2 separate regions of the Homo sapiens genome follow, and region 2 is linked to region 1. The links are contacts of gene promoters, found by promoter capture Hi-C in blood cells and fetal thymus (Javierre and others, 2016). All regions are on one chromosome and are shown on one strand. Each heading gives the region's core, a stretch centred on a gene start or on the middle of the fragment in contact. The rest is flanking DNA. Distances are from core to core; before and after follow the strand shown.

What was found. Contacts are between HindIII fragments. The CHiCAGO score rates a contact against its expected background, and 5 or more counts as called.
Region 2: a contact is called between a fragment that was not itself captured here and the fragment with the promoter of RAD51D in region 1, in 2 of 17 cell types (total CD4 T cells and total CD8 T cells). The highest score is 7.2, in total CD4 T cells.

What each region holds. Positions count from the first base shown.
Region 1 is chr17:35,118,610-35,126,030 of GRCh38, reverse strand. It overlaps RAD51D (RAD51 paralog D), which reads left to right and starts at 6,171. Exons shown (of 10, transcript NM_002878.4): 1 at 6,171-6,499; 2 at 6,859-6,920; 3 at 7,412-7,421. The coding sequence starts at 6,418. It overlaps RAD51L3-RFFL (RAD51L3-RFFL readthrough), which reads left to right and starts at 4,509. Exons shown (of 7, transcript NR_037714.1): 1 at 4,509-4,740. FNDC8 (fibronectin type III domain containing 8) reads right to left here and starts at 4,416. Exons shown (of 4, transcript NM_017559.4): 1 at 4,129-4,416. The coding sequence starts at 4,337. RefSeq lists an enhancer at 5,839-5,898 and a silencer at 6,109-6,308. The HindIII fragment of the contact is 14,701 bases long and covers 1-7,421 here.
Region 2 is chr17:35,604,413-35,611,833 of GRCh38, reverse strand. AP2B1 (adaptor related protein complex 2 subunit beta 1) reads right to left here. Exons shown (of 22, transcript NM_001030006.2): 4 at 5,994-6,129; 5 at 3,447-3,692. Among named protein-coding and RNA genes, the nearest start is that of AP2B1, 21 kb to the right of the region's middle. The HindIII fragment of the contact is 221 bases long and covers 3,795-4,015 here.

The DNA of each region.
Region 1 (7,421 bases), core at 4,922-7,421:
GAGGATCGCTTGAGCCTGGTAGGTGGAGGTTGCAGTGAGCCGAGATCCTGCCACTGCACTCCAGCCTGGGCAACAGAGTGAGACCCTGTCTCAAAAATAAAATAAAACAAATATACATATGTTGGTGTGGATGCTCAAAAACTTATTTCTTCCACTCTGAATTTTTTAAAATTATGAAGTATTTTAGACTTATACAAAAATATCAAGAATATTATATTAAACCTCCATTTACTCCTCATCTACCTTTAGAAATAAAATCTTATCACTATGGGTAAAGCCCCCCAGACACTTCTGTCTCCCACCAAAGTCCCCATCCTTCGACCGACAAGTAATGAGTACAGTAAAGTTTAAATTGTGTATTTATTACTCAATGTGTGTCTTTATAGGTTTCTTACATATTTATGTTATCCCTAGGCAAGATCTATTATTTTTCACGTTTGTAGATGTTGTACAAATAAAAGATATTATTCAGCACATACCCATCTGCAACATGCTTTTTTCACTCAACTTTGTGTTGACATTCATCTATCTTGATACATGTAGCTCTGGTTCAGTCGTTTTTACTGTTTTATGATTTTCCATTACATGGATATTTGTTTTTGTTTTTGTTTTTTGAGACAGGGTCTCCCTCTGCTGCCCAGGCTGGAGTGCAGTGGCACAAACTCCCAGGCTCAAGCCATCCGTCCACCTCCACCTCCTGAGTAGCTGGGACTACAGGTGCACATCACCATGTCTAGCTAATTTTTGTGTTTTTCTGTAGATGCAGGGTTTTGCCATGTTGCCCAGGCTGACTTCGAACTCCTGGGCTCAAGTGATCCTCCCAAAGTGCTTGGATTATAGGTATGAGCCACTGTGCCCGGCCTATATGGATATTTGTATTGTTATGAGATGTTTGCTATTACAAAGAAAAACCTTGTACATGATCCCCACCACTTAACATTTCTTTTTTCTGTTTTTACTCTTTTTTCTTTTTTTTTTTTTTTGAGCTGGAGTCTCGCTCTGTCGCCCAGGCTGGAGTGCACTGGTGTGACTTCGACTCACTGCAACCTCCGCCTCCCTGGCTTAAGCGATTCTCGTGCCTCAGCCTCCCGAGTAGCTGGGATTACAGGCCCACACTGCCACATCTGCCCAATTTTTGTATTTTTAGTAGAGATGGGGTTTTACCATGTTGGTTAGGCTGGTCTCGAACTCCTGACCTCAGATGATTTGCCGGCCTCAGCCTCCCAAAGTGCTGGGATTACAGGCGTGAGCCACTGCCCCCAGCCAAACAAAAAACAATATTTTTTTAACTGATGAAGAACACCAAGCCAAAAAGTTTGGCTTTCAAATCTTTTTTTACCTTTACCCAAAGTAAAATACACTTTCCATGGCAACTTAGTACATGCATATATACGCCTATAACTAAGACAAACATTTCACAGACCAACACTTACTCTGTGTGCAATGGGCTCTGGAATTTCCAATTCTATTATAGTTTATTTTATTTATTTATTTATTTATTTTTGAGATGGAGTCTCACTCTCTCAGCCAGGCTGGAGTGCAGTGGCGTGATCTCAGCTCACTGCAACCTCCGCCTCCTGGGTGAGAGTGATTCTCCTGCCTCAGCCTCCCGAGTAGCTGGGACTACAGGTGCGGCCACCATGTTCAGCTAATTTTTGTATTTTTAGTAGAGAAGGGGTTTCACCATGTTGGCCAGGATGGTCTCGATCTCTTGACCTCGTGGTCTGCCCGCCTTGGCCTTCCAAAGTGCTAGGATTACAGGCGTGAGCCACTGCACCCAGCCAGTTTATTTTTATCATAGTGGTCTTCACCAACTAGAAGGACTTCTTGACCCATTAATAGGTCACAATCCACAGTTTGTGGATCCCTTACTCCCATCCAGCCTCCCAGGTCTTGGTTGATGAACGGGCCAAGTTTTTCCTCCCCAGGTTCCAGCCTCATCAGCCTCCTCCTGAGAAATCCTGATTAGCCCAGATCCCCTATGCTAGCGCTTGGTGGACATTTGGAATAAATGATTCCCCCACCAAGGTCTTTTGTAGACTGAAGAGTCTGGGTATTAATGTCATATGTGCTTTAGATTGTCCTAATGAATTAATATTTCAGATTCACTTACTGCAAATGCTGGTACTGAAGCAAGCACAGAAGGCCGCTAGGCACTGGCTACATGCTGAACATCTCCTCCTCCTGATGTTCACAACAGCTCTGCTGGATGGATGTTAGCCCCATTTGGCAAACAAGGGGCTGAGGGTCCCTGATCTGTTTTTTTTTTTGTTTTGTTTTGTTTTTTTTATGGAGCCTTGCTCTGTCTCCCAGACCCCTGGCTGGAGTGCAGTGGCACAATCTTGGCTCACTGCGACCTCCACCTCCCAGGTTCAAAGGATTCTTCCGCCTCAGCCTCTTGAGTAGCTGGGACAACAGGTGCGTGCCACCACATCCAGCTAATTTTTGTATTTTTAGTAGAGACGAGGTTTCACCATGTTGGCCAGGCTGGTCTCAAACTCCTGACTTCAAGTGATGCATCCGCCTCAGCCTCTCAAAGTGCTGGGATTACAGGCGTGGGCTACCCCATCTGGCCTCCGATCTTAATTAAGTTGTCTAAGACCATAAATCTCTAAGTGGCAGAACTTGGATCTGAGTTTGGGCTTCTAGTCCAAGATTCCCAGTATACCATGAAGTTTCCTACGAGCATCCATCACTTTAGCCATACCTGCTTGCTTACGGGCACTTTGGGGAATGGACACCACATCCCTCTCACATACTCAAGACCAGCTATGTAGTCTGTGGAGCCCAGTGCAAATTGAAGTACCCTGAGCCCCTTATTCAAAAATTCTGAATTTGAAGATAGTAACAGAAAAGCATTAAACTAAGCACAGGCCCCTTGTAAGTGCAGGGCTATTTGTGACTGCACAGGTCATTCACCCATGTGGTGGGTGACCTGCAAGTAATTCCCTCAGCCCACATCACCCTGTACCACCACCCCTTCACTGGCTAACTCCTTTCCTTCCTTGGAGACTCAGCTCAAATATCACTTCCTCCAAGAAGCCTCCTTCAACTGCACCCAGTCTCAAGCTATACTAAGCCCCTCTGGTCCCTCAAGGCATCCTGTCCTGGCACTTACCAGACCATGCTATATCATTCTGGTTATTGCATGATCCCCATCCTTTCACCCCTGACCTCCACATGCCAGACTGGGAGCTCCTTAAAGGCAGGGACTGTGCTTTCCAGCTCTGCGTTCCCAGAACTTAAACACTGGGACAGACACCTTGCAGGTGCTCAAAGAGTTTTGTGGAATGAAGTAGAGGAAAACCAGACTTGGTGAGGAGGAACAGCAAAACCCAGTCCGAAGGAAGGCAGGCTACTGGGGAGCAGTCAGGTAGATGAAGGTACCAAAGAGAGAGGGTTGAGGAAGAGGAGCCATGGGTGTGTCAGGGATTTGGTGATGGTGAGGACCACAGCCAGTCAAGGCAGGATAAGGAGCACTGTCAACAAACTGACTAATCCAAGAAGGCCTCCTGGAGTGGGAGCTCCATATGCCTCCAAGAAGTGATTTGGGGCTCAGGAATACATAAATAGATCCAACCTGCCCACACGCTCTTCTCTGGGAGTCAAGGAACTGGGTTGTGACAAGTCAGGGAAGTATAGATTCTTTGTCTCTCTGCCCAGCCCTCGGCTCCAGCCTTTCTTAGAAACTATAGGCATGGTGGCTCAAGCCTATAATCCCAACACTGTGGGAGGCTGAGGCGGGAGGATCGCTTGAGCCCGGAAGTTCAAGACCAGCCTGGGCAACACGGTGAAACCCCGTTTCTACCAAAAAAAAAAATTTATATATATATATATATATATATATATATATATATATATATATATATATATGAAAATTAGCCAGGTGTGGTGGTGGCGCGTCAATAGTCCCAGCTACTTGGGAGGTGGAGGTGGGAAGATCACTTGAGCTCAAGAATTCAAGGCTGCAGTGAGCCGAGATTGCACCACTGCACTCCAGCCTGGGTGACAAAGCAAGATCCTGTCAAAAAAAAAAAAAAAAAGGAAGGAAGGAAGGAAGGGAGGAAGGAAGGGAGGAAGGAAGGGAGGGAGGGAGGGAGGGAGGGAGGGACCAGATTTGTGACTTACAGTAGGTTGATGGTATCATCCTCCAAGAAGTTGACCAAATTGCCCTTTGAGGCTAGTGGGAGTCCTTTGGTAGTGACGGTCCGGTTCATAGACTTGGGGTTTGAAAAGGGTTTTGGCAGTTGGTCAAGGGCATTCATCATGTTGAAGTTTTCTTTCTTCAGTACAGCCTCCTCCCCATCTCCCACTTGATGGAGTGCCTCTGATGCCATCTGATTTGTTCGGGATGACACCCGTCACCATGCAGGACAACCCAGCTGACCAGAAGCAGAGAGAAACTGTGGGGGCAGTGGCCCACCTTTAGTTTGGACAGTCTGCAGGTGCAATGAGCTGACTTCATAATCATCACAGAGTGTAACAATTACAGGCCAGCCTCCCCCCTTGATTTGAGGCTACTGCTGCCAGGCTAGCTATGTGGCTGGCCAGACCAAGGGCCAGTGTGACTGTGAAGCAGCATCATGAGAGGGGTAAAACCAAGGAACAGACTGCATGAGCCCTTGGGCCCCTTCCAGCTCTAATACTCCATGGTGATGGCAGCCCTGCCCTTCTCTGAAGATCTCAAAATGCCTGACACCTGTGTCCTTCCGCACTGCCCTGGGAAGGAGAATAAGGATGGTGAGAGATGGGCGTGGGATGTAGAGGATGGTGGTGTGGCCCTGAGAGATAGGCAGTATTGGAAAGTGTCTGCTGGGGAGGGAAACTTTGTCCGTAGAAGCTAAGGCTCTCTATCCTGAAACCATAGGCTGCAGACTCCACTGTGCCCAGTCGGTTAGTGAAAGGGAAAGCCCACATGGTTCATAGGGGTTCATGGCTCACATATGATCAGACTTCACTGCTAGAATTCTAAATGTGCCACACCCACACTCCCAAGTACTTTCCTGTGTGGAGTGACAATGGTGGCAGTTGCAGTGGGATACAGAGATGGGCCACACATGATCTCTGCTCTCAGAGAAACCACCTTACAGTAGGAAAACATGTACACAGCTTCAGGGGTGGGGAGGGGGGCTGTTAGAAAGCACTGGCTTTGCAGAGTCAGATGTGGATGTGAAGTCCAGCCCTGTGCCGCCTAGCTGGGTGACCTTTGGCAAGTGATTTAACCTCACTGAACCTCAGTTTCTTCATTGGTGAAACAGGGATAAAAAATAGCGCCTCCCTCACAGATTTGTGATGAGATAACCATGTAAAGTTTTATTTCTTCCTATGGATGAGGCAAAGCAAAGGACATTTAAAAATACCAAATCATATCTTTTTGTGTGTGTTCTATATAACCAAGGTTTCTTGCCCTTAAAAAAAATAAAAAATAAAATAAAAAATAGAGGCCGGGCACGGTGGCTCACACCTGTAATCCCCGCACTTCGGGAGACCAAGGCAGGAGGATTGTTTGAGCCCAGTAGTTCGAGACCTGTGTGGGCAACATGGTGTAACCCCATTTTGTAGAGGCGAAACCTCTACAAAAAATACAAAAATTAGCTGGGCAAGGTGGCACGTGACTGTAGTCCCAGCTACTCAGGAGGCTGAGGCAGGAGGATCGCTTGAACCCAGGAGGTCGAGGCTGCAAAGCTGAGATCTCACCAGGGCACTCCAGCCTGGGCGGCCGATCGAGACCCTGTCTCAACCAAAACAAAACAAACTTTTGAAAAATAGACGCAGGTGCCCTCTGGATGCTTTGCTGCTTCTTGACACCTGTCGTATAATCTGTAATGATGTGATTTCTGCGATTCCTTTTCATTGTCTGTCTTTCCCTTGCTCACAGTAAGCTCCCTGGGGGTAAGGGCGGGTCGTCTTGTGTCGCATTTTGTCTCCAGCGGAGATCCGTTCCGTTTGGAACGGAAGCTGGCGCACAGAAGGCTCTTTAGAAGGTCGGTGTGTGTGTTGCGGCAGAAGGTAGAGGCCGAATGTGGCCGCGGGTGGCGTGTTGAGCGCGGAGGGGGTCGTGGGACTCGGGAACCTGTGCAGGCGGTGGAGAGGGGCGCAGCGGCTCTGCCCCGTGCGGCCCGCAGATGGCGCTGCAGGCCAGGTCCTCGCCGCGCGCCAGCCTGGAACCCGGAAGCGGCAGCGCGGCGCGACCCGGCGGGCGGGCTCTGGGCGCGGGAATCCCGGCGGATCCCGGGCGGGCGGATGACCCCCAGCCCTACCCTTGGTGCCGCCTCCTCCTCTCTCCTTTCTCCTCCGGCAGCCAGCGCGCCTGTGTCCTCTCTAGGAAGGGGTAGGGGAGGGGCGTCTGGAGAGGACCCCCCGCGAATGCCCACGTGACGTGCAGTCCCCCTGGGGCTGTTCCGGCCTGCGGGGAACATGGGCGTGCTCAGGGTCGGACTGTGCCCTGGCCTTACCGAGGAGATGATCCAGCTTCTCAGGAGCCACAGGATCAAGACAGGTGACCGGGTGTGCGCGTGCCAGGGAGCCGCGCGGGCCTCGCACAACCTGGGCAGGCCCCGAGGGCTGGCGCACTGCCCTGGCATACCTGCAGGGCGCTTCCCCTCCATTCCTAGAGGGCCGCGCTTCTGGAGAGGCTCAGGAAGGGTGGGCGTGGGGAGCCAAGCTCTAAAACAGGGTAGAGATTCCTACTGTGTGCAGGGCACCGCGCCGGCTCCTGCAGCTTTGTTATTTCACACTGGCCTCCTGAGACGGCCTGCCGGGGGGTAGAATTGACACCCCATTTGACAGATGAGGAAAAACCAAGTGTGGGAGGCCCCAGTCCTCTCTGCCAATCCGCTATACGTGTTTTGTTTTCAGTGGTGGACCTGGTTTCTGCAGACCTGGAAGAGGTAGCTCAGAAATGTGGCTTGTCTTACAAGGTGAGCTCCTGATCTCCACATTCCAAACCTGAGTGTCTTTTTAAAAAGTCCATCCCAAGCCAGCTGGGCGCGGTGGCTCATGCCTGTAATCCCAGCACTTTGGGAGGCCGAGGCGGGTGGGTCACTTGGAGTCAGAAGTCAGGAGTTCGAGACCATCCAGGCCAACATGGTGAAACCCTGTCCCTACTAAAAATACAAAAATTAGCTGGGTGTGGTGGCCCACGCCTACAATCCCAGCTACTCGGGAGGCTGAGGAAGGAGAATCATTTGAGCCCGGGAGGCAGAGGTTGCAGTGAGCCGAGATCGTGCTACTGCACTCCAATCTGGGCGACAGAGTGAGACCCTGTCTGAAACAACAACAATAACAAAAGTCCATCCCAAGCCAAAGGGAGCAGAGGGTTCTCAGATATTGAGAAGTAGGGTGAATGACACCCTGGGATGCCAGCTTCTACGGGCAATTTGTTGCTGAGCAGTCTGGGGCCCTTTGGCAGGCCCTGGTTG
Region 2 (7,421 bases), core at 2,656-5,155, 490 kb before region 1:
TTATATAGCTAGGGGATGGGGAAAGAAAATAAGTAAAACAAGATTGGCATGTATTGATGACTAGTGAATCTAGTGATGATAAATGAATTCATTTTATTTATTGTATTCATTTATTTGTCCTAATTTTGAATGTTTGAAGATTCCCACAATAAAAAACACAAATACATAAATAGCATACGTATGCCACCTGATTTTATGGACTAGATGAAAACTAGCTCTCTCCTTTGCAATGTAAACTTTGAATAAATCGGACAAACTAAGCTTGTTCCAGAATCATTTTATTCTTCTCGGTTTATCTGGATAAAGATCTCTAAATGTGCTACTTGAGTGTGTGTGCGCACGTGCGCGCGCGCACACACACACACACACGACTTTACTGCTAAACATCCCTTAGGCCTTATCCCTGACCATCTAACTGTATAGGTTCTGCATTAAAGAATTTACATTAGCATAGAGATGCTGCCTCAAACTGGAGTCGCCTGTAAGTTAGAACTCATTTTCCCTTTGAGCCATTCCATATTCTTAGCACCACTGAATATTTAATAAGTTTCCACGGGGTACATGATATTCTGCCCACCTGGTTGACGGTTGCAGCACAAACACTTTTCATCTCATCTGTCCTCAGGTAGAGAATTATAGATAGTTGCTCAGAATAACAGTGAATCAAAAGCAATGCCAAAAACACAAGTTGGTGCCAGCTAAACATTCTGTAAAGTAGATACTACTAACTTTAGACAATATTTATTTTTCTATATTTTTGAGGAAGGGTCTGTCTTTGTCACTCAGGCTATAATGCAGTGGTGCAATCATAGCTCACTACAGCCTTAAACTCCTGGGCTCAAGGGATTCTCCCACCTCGGCCTCCCAAGTACCTGGAATTACAGGCATGCACCACCACGTCCAACAAAATTTTTTTTTTTTTTTTTGAGACAAGAGTCTCGCTCCGTCACCCAGGCTGGAATGCAGTGGCACGACCTCGGCTCACTGCAAGCTCCGCCTCCTGGGTTCACACCATTCTCCTGCCTCGGCCTCCTGAGTAGCTGGGACGATAGGCGCCTGCCACCACGCCCGGCTAATTTTTTGTATTTTTAGTAGAGACGGGGATTCACCGCGTTAGCCAGGATGGTCCTGATTTCCTGACTTCGTGATCCACCCACCTCGGCCTCCCAAAGTGCTGGGATTACAGGCATGAGCCACTGCACCCGGCCCCACCGAATTTTTTAAAAAAATTTTTGTAGAGACAGGGTCTCAGTTTGTTGCCCAGGCTGGTCTCAAACTCTTGGCTTCAAGTGATCCTTCTGCCTCAGCCTCCCAAAGTGCTAGGATTATAGGCATATGAGCCAACATGCCTAGCCAACTAATTTCTTTATGTAATTTTTAAAAAGGGGGCTGGGTGTGATGGCTCATGCCTGTAATCCCAGCACTTTGGGAGGTCAAGGCAGGTGCATCACCTGAGTCAAGAGTTTGAGACCAGCCTGGCCAACATGGTGCAACGTCGTCTCTACTAAAAATACAAAAATTAGCCGGGCATGGTAGTGGGCACCTGTAATCCCAGTTACTAAGGAGGCTGAGGCAGGAGGAGAATCGCTTGAACCCAGAAGGTAGAGGTTCCAGTGAGCCGAGATCATGCCACTGCACTCCAGACTGGGCGACAGAGTGACACTCCATCTCAAAAAAAAATAAAAAATAAATAAAAGGTACCATATGGTGTTACTTAGGGGAAATAAAAGGCAGGGTTGAATCTTCTAGTACTGGTGGTGATGCTCTGTCAGAAGTCATGGTTAAAGCATCTGCACTTCCACACCCACACCGACGCCCACCCTTATGCCTAGGTTGAAAGATTTCTAATGGTAGTTACTACCATAAAAACCTTAAAAAATTATGACTTGCTTCATCCTGTGGATTTAATACTAATCTTGAAGGATAATAAACAGAAGCCAAGGCTACCTGTAAAATAAAATGAACCAAACAAAATGTCAAAGCAGAGAAGTGAACAGGTAATTTACAAATGAGAGACAGCATCTATGTCCAGCCAAATTCTAATTCTCCATTTAAAGTTCACTAAGAAAATATTCAGGCCAAGCACAGTAATTCACTGAGGAAGGCCAAGGTGGGAGGATTGCTTGAGGCCAGGAATTCATGACCAACCTGGGCAACATAGCAAGACCCCATCTCCATAAAAAATAAGGCTGGGTGCGGTGGCTCACACATGTAATCCCAACACTTTGGGAGGCCATGTCAGGTGGATCACGAGGTCAGGAGATCAAGACCATCCTGGCTAACACGGTGAAGCCCCGTCTCTACTAAAAAATACAAAAAATTAGCCAGGCGTGGTGGCAGGCGCCTGTAGTCCCAGCTACTCAAAAGGCTGAGGCAGGACAATGGCATGAACCTGGAAGGCGGAGCTTGCAGTGAGCTGAGATCACGCCACTGCACTCCAGCCTGGGCGACAAGGCAAGACTCTGTCTCAAAAAAAAAAAAAAAATTAGCGGGATGTGGTGGCATGTGCCTGCAGTCCTAGATGCTCAGGAGGCTGAGGTAGGAGTGCTTGAACCCAGGAGTTCAAAGTTACAGTGAGCTATGACTGCACCACTGCACTCCAGCTTGGCCACAGAGCAAGATCCTATCTGTAAAAAATAAATAAATAGATAGATAAATAATTTTTAAAAGGGAATATTCAAAGGTTATCCACTGATTAACTCTTAGTGTTATGCACCTTTCAGTAAACATTGCATTAGACCAAAAAGGTAGCACTTTAAAGAAAGTGGCTATTTTCCTCCATCTTCCTGGCAACAATATTTAATGACCCATCCAATATATTCAATTAGTACCCAATTCAAATGAGCTTTAGTTATTACTGGAGTCAAACATATCACTTGGGACTTGACCTTCTTCATTATATAAGCAAAGTTTAAAATGTCAATAAGGAAAAGGTCCCAAAACTTTAAGGTGTTAAGCTATGTTCTGGCTGCTAAACATTTACAACATAACCAAGTTGGCTAAAAATAATCTTGCCCTAGAAATTCCCCTATAGAGAAATGCATGATAATAATTAGGTAATAAAGATCATTTTCATTCAGTTTCTAGTCCCACACCACCAGAAAATACCACAAATATTGATCTGAAGAAAATAATCTTAAATATATATAAATTTACGGCCAAACCTCCTGAAGAAAATGATGAAAGTTTTCATCATGGGCAATATGGGCAAATATGAGCATAAGTACAATACAAAGATTTGCTTTAAGATCCCTGCATTTTAGTACTTGGTTCTCACCTCAAAAACACCTAGGATATGAAATATACAATCTGTGAGACACACAAAGTCATGTTTCCCATAGCTACCCCATAACCCAGTATTCCAAAGACAAGGTTCATATTAAACACGCTTTAACAAGGGACTCATTTTAAATACTGCTCTCTTTGTAAAAGCAGAAGCTTATTACCATTGGATTTGAATCTGCTATGAGATCCCGTAGAGAATCCAGAAATCCCTGATCTTCCACCATTTGGGCATTGATATCATGGAGTTTTGCCACGCAGACTGCTGCTGTTTTCCGAACATAGGGATCCTCATCCTTCAAGCACTTGCGGAGCGGCTCACAGAGATATTCTGTAATTTTGTCTACCCGGATGCACCCCATGGTTCTGACTGCCAAGGCTCGAATCAAAGGATTAGGATCTTCACAGTCCTGCAGAAAACAATCACCAACAACTGTAGGTATACATGGTGGCTAAAAGTAAACAGTCCAGTTTATGTAAGCTGCAAAAGAATTACCTCATTAATTTAAGCTTCCAGATACATTCTACATGAGCTCCAATCTTCCATGCTATTCCTTTCCTAAGTACAAATCTTAGCTGCCCTATTTAAGAGTTTAGGTGAAGAAGTCATTTAACTGTTTTAAATACAAAATGAGAAACAGCTCAGCAGGATTCACTCTAGTGCCAGGCAGAGGTTTAGGGAGTTCGTACCATCCCACAGCCATTAGGATCTACCCTAAAAACAGGAAAAGCTTTTGGGCTTGTATTCCGGCACAGGAAAAAAAAAAAAAAAAAAAAGAGGAGCTGTAAAGACCGTGCCCTACTCCACAGTGAGTTCCTAAACATCAAATAGAAAAGAGAGCTAGATTTCTGTGGCCTGCAGCCAAGAAAACAAAGGGGAGCACAGGAGCTGGTCTGGGCTTGAAATAAGTACCTGGAGTTAAGCAGCAGAGAAGGCCCTCTGAGCTCTTGGCTAACATACATTCTCTTTTACTAGCAAGTGCTTCCAAATATAGTAAATAGAATATGGAGAAAGAACACTCTTTTAAACTGCCTTACACTAAAAAAATGTCTTTAAGCCCATGTAAATCTATGCACAACTCTAACTTCCAAAAAATGTAAACTAAATTCTTCCCAATGATATATTCCCTCTATGAACCACCAGTCATGGAGAACAAACTGTTACGTTCTGACTCTATAATGTAGCTAAACACAGGAAAAGAACAAAAAGTTCATGAGAAAGAAGAAAGCATATTGCTTATTTTTCAAAACATTTTAAATAGAAGCTAATTTTAGAAATGCTGTCTGTTTTTTTTAAATGTACACTAAGTTCCAAACAGAGAAAAAACAACTATTAAAAAAATATTAGGCTGGACATGGTGGCTCACGCCTGTAATCCCAGCACTTTGAGAGGCCAAGGTGGGCGGATCACCTGAGGTCAGGAGTTCGAGACCAGCCTGGCCAATATGGTGAAACCCCATCTCTACTAAATATACAAAATTAGCCAGGTGTGGTGGTGCATGCCTGTAATCCCAGCTACTCGGGAGGATGAGGCAGGAGAATCACTTGAGCCCGGGAGGCGGAGGTTGTGGTGAGCTGAGATTGCGCCATTGCACTCCAGCCCGGGCAACAAGAGTGAAATTCTGTCACCAAAAAAAAAAAAAAATTAATGGGAATGATCCCATTATTATTTTCTTTAAATCTATGATAGGAAAGATTTGACTGGATATTCAATAATAAGAAAATATTTTGTCCATTTTTAAAGACATGATGATATTGTGGTTATGTTTAAATAAAAGATCTTATCTTGACAAATATAAAGACAAAACTATTTAATATATGATGTTCAGGATTTCTTTAAAATTATCCAGCAGGAGAGGGGGTTGGAGGTCAGAAAATATGTATGAGGATTACAAACAAGAGTGGTTATGTGTCGGTAACTGTTAAAACTGCAAGACGGATATTTAGGAATTTATTATACTAGTCCTTTTTCTTGAATATGTTTAAAATTTTCCATTAAAAAAAATTAATCACGCCGGGAGTGGTGGCTTGTGTCCGTAACCCCAGCACTTTGTGAGGCTGAGGTGGGTGGATCACTTGAAGTTAGGAGCACGAGATCAGCCTGACCAACATGGTGAAACCCTGTCTCTACTAAAAATACAAAAATAAGCTGGGCATGGTGACGGTCACCTGTAATCCCAGCTACTTGGGAGACTGAGGCAGGAGAATCACTTGAACCTGGGAGGCAGAGGTTGCAGTGAGCCAAGATCGTGCCACTGCACTCCAGCCTCGGTGACAGAGTGAGACTCTGTATCAAAAAAAAAAAAAAATTAATCAAATGATGTAAGACGTATTAAATGAAATGAAAGTAGAAACTCCGGCAGTCTCCACTACTGCTGACTCATAAGTATAATTTCTACAAAGATAAAATAGGTAAAGCCCCCAATTACTGATAGTACAATGATATGCCCACCTTTGTCAGCCTCAGAAGGTAAAACAGTGGGGTTTCACCAGGTTTTCTTCTACCCATCTGGCAAGGATGCACCAAGCCCCACTAACAGAAAGCTCAGCACATGGTTTGAATTTCCCTGGATGACACACACTGGTATACAGAATGCTTAAAACATGAACATTCCTAGTCATTGCCAACACTTCCCTACACTCCTTCCTTGTGAACAGAGGTTACTTATTTGCAATTCAAACTCTGTTATTGAGGCCTTGGGAAAAGTTACCTTCACAAAGCTGTTTACAGCCATGATGGCCATGTCTGGCTGACTCTTGGCGTAGTTCATCAAGTAGAGATACACAAGCTTCTTTAGTTCCAGATTGTCAGTCTGCATACAGTTCACTACGTCTGGAAAGAGAGAACTGAGAAGAGAGGGTAAAAGAGAAAAGGAAAGTAAGCAGGTGTTGGTGCCAAGCTGTTGGACAGAACATGAATAGCCTTAACTAACAGTGATTTGATGCAAGAACAAATGTCCCCACAGTGGTAACTGTCACAGAAATGAATTACTAAAGAAACTGGCTGGGCACGGTGGCTCACGCCTATAATCCCAGCACTCTGGGAGGCCAAGGCAGGCGGATCACCTGAGGTCGGGAGTTTGAGACTAGCCTGACCAACATGGAGAAACCCCGTCTCTACTAAAAATACAAAAAATTAGCCAGGCATGGTGGTGCATGTCTGTAATCCCAGCTACTCAGGAGGCTGAGACAGGAGAATCGTTTGAACCTGGGAGGCAGAGTTTGCGGTGAGCTGAGATCACACCATTGCACTCCAGCCTGGGCAACAAGAGCGAGACTCCTGTGTCTAAAAAAAAAAGGAAAAAAAAAAAGAAAAGAAAAGAGAAAAGAAAAGAAAAGAAACTGTAGGCCAGACATGGTGGCTCAGGTATGCAATCTCAGAACTTTGGGAGGCTGGGGTGTAAGGATTCACTTGAGACCAGGTGTTCAAGGCCAGCCTGGACAACATGGCGAGATCCTCTCTACAAAAATTTGTTTTAAAAAGCTAGGTGTGGTGGTGCACACCTGTAGTCTTAGCTACTCAGAAGGCTGAAGCAGGAGGTCGAGACTGCAGTGAGCCATGATCACGTCACTGCACTCTAGCCTGGATGACAGAGTGAGACCTTGTCCCCATCCAAAAAAAACAAGAAAAAAATTGTAGTGCTGTTCTCAACAAGGTCTCTATAGTTTTAGAAAAAGCTTTTTATTATGAAAAAATGTTAATCCTAGTGCTGGGATTACATGCATAAGCCACTGTGCCCAGCTTCATCTATAATATTTTAATGTGTATCTTAAGAATCCTTTTTTTTCTTTTTGAGACAGAGTCTCACTCTGTCGCCCAGGCTGGAGTTCAGTGGCACCATCTTTGCTTCCTGCAACCACTGCCTCCCCAGTTCAAGCAATTCTAATGTGTCAGCCTCCTAAGTAGCTGAGATTACAGGCGTGCGCCACCACTCCCGGCTAATTTTTATATTTTTAGTAGAGATGGGGTTTCACCATGTTAGCCAGGCTAGTCCCGAACTCCTGACCTCAGGTGATCCACCTGCCTTGGCCTCCCAAAGTTCTGGGATTACAGATGTGAGCCACCACGCACAGGCAAGTGTCTTTTTTTTTTTCCACTACCTTTATCACATTCAAAAAAACACACAAAAACAAAAACA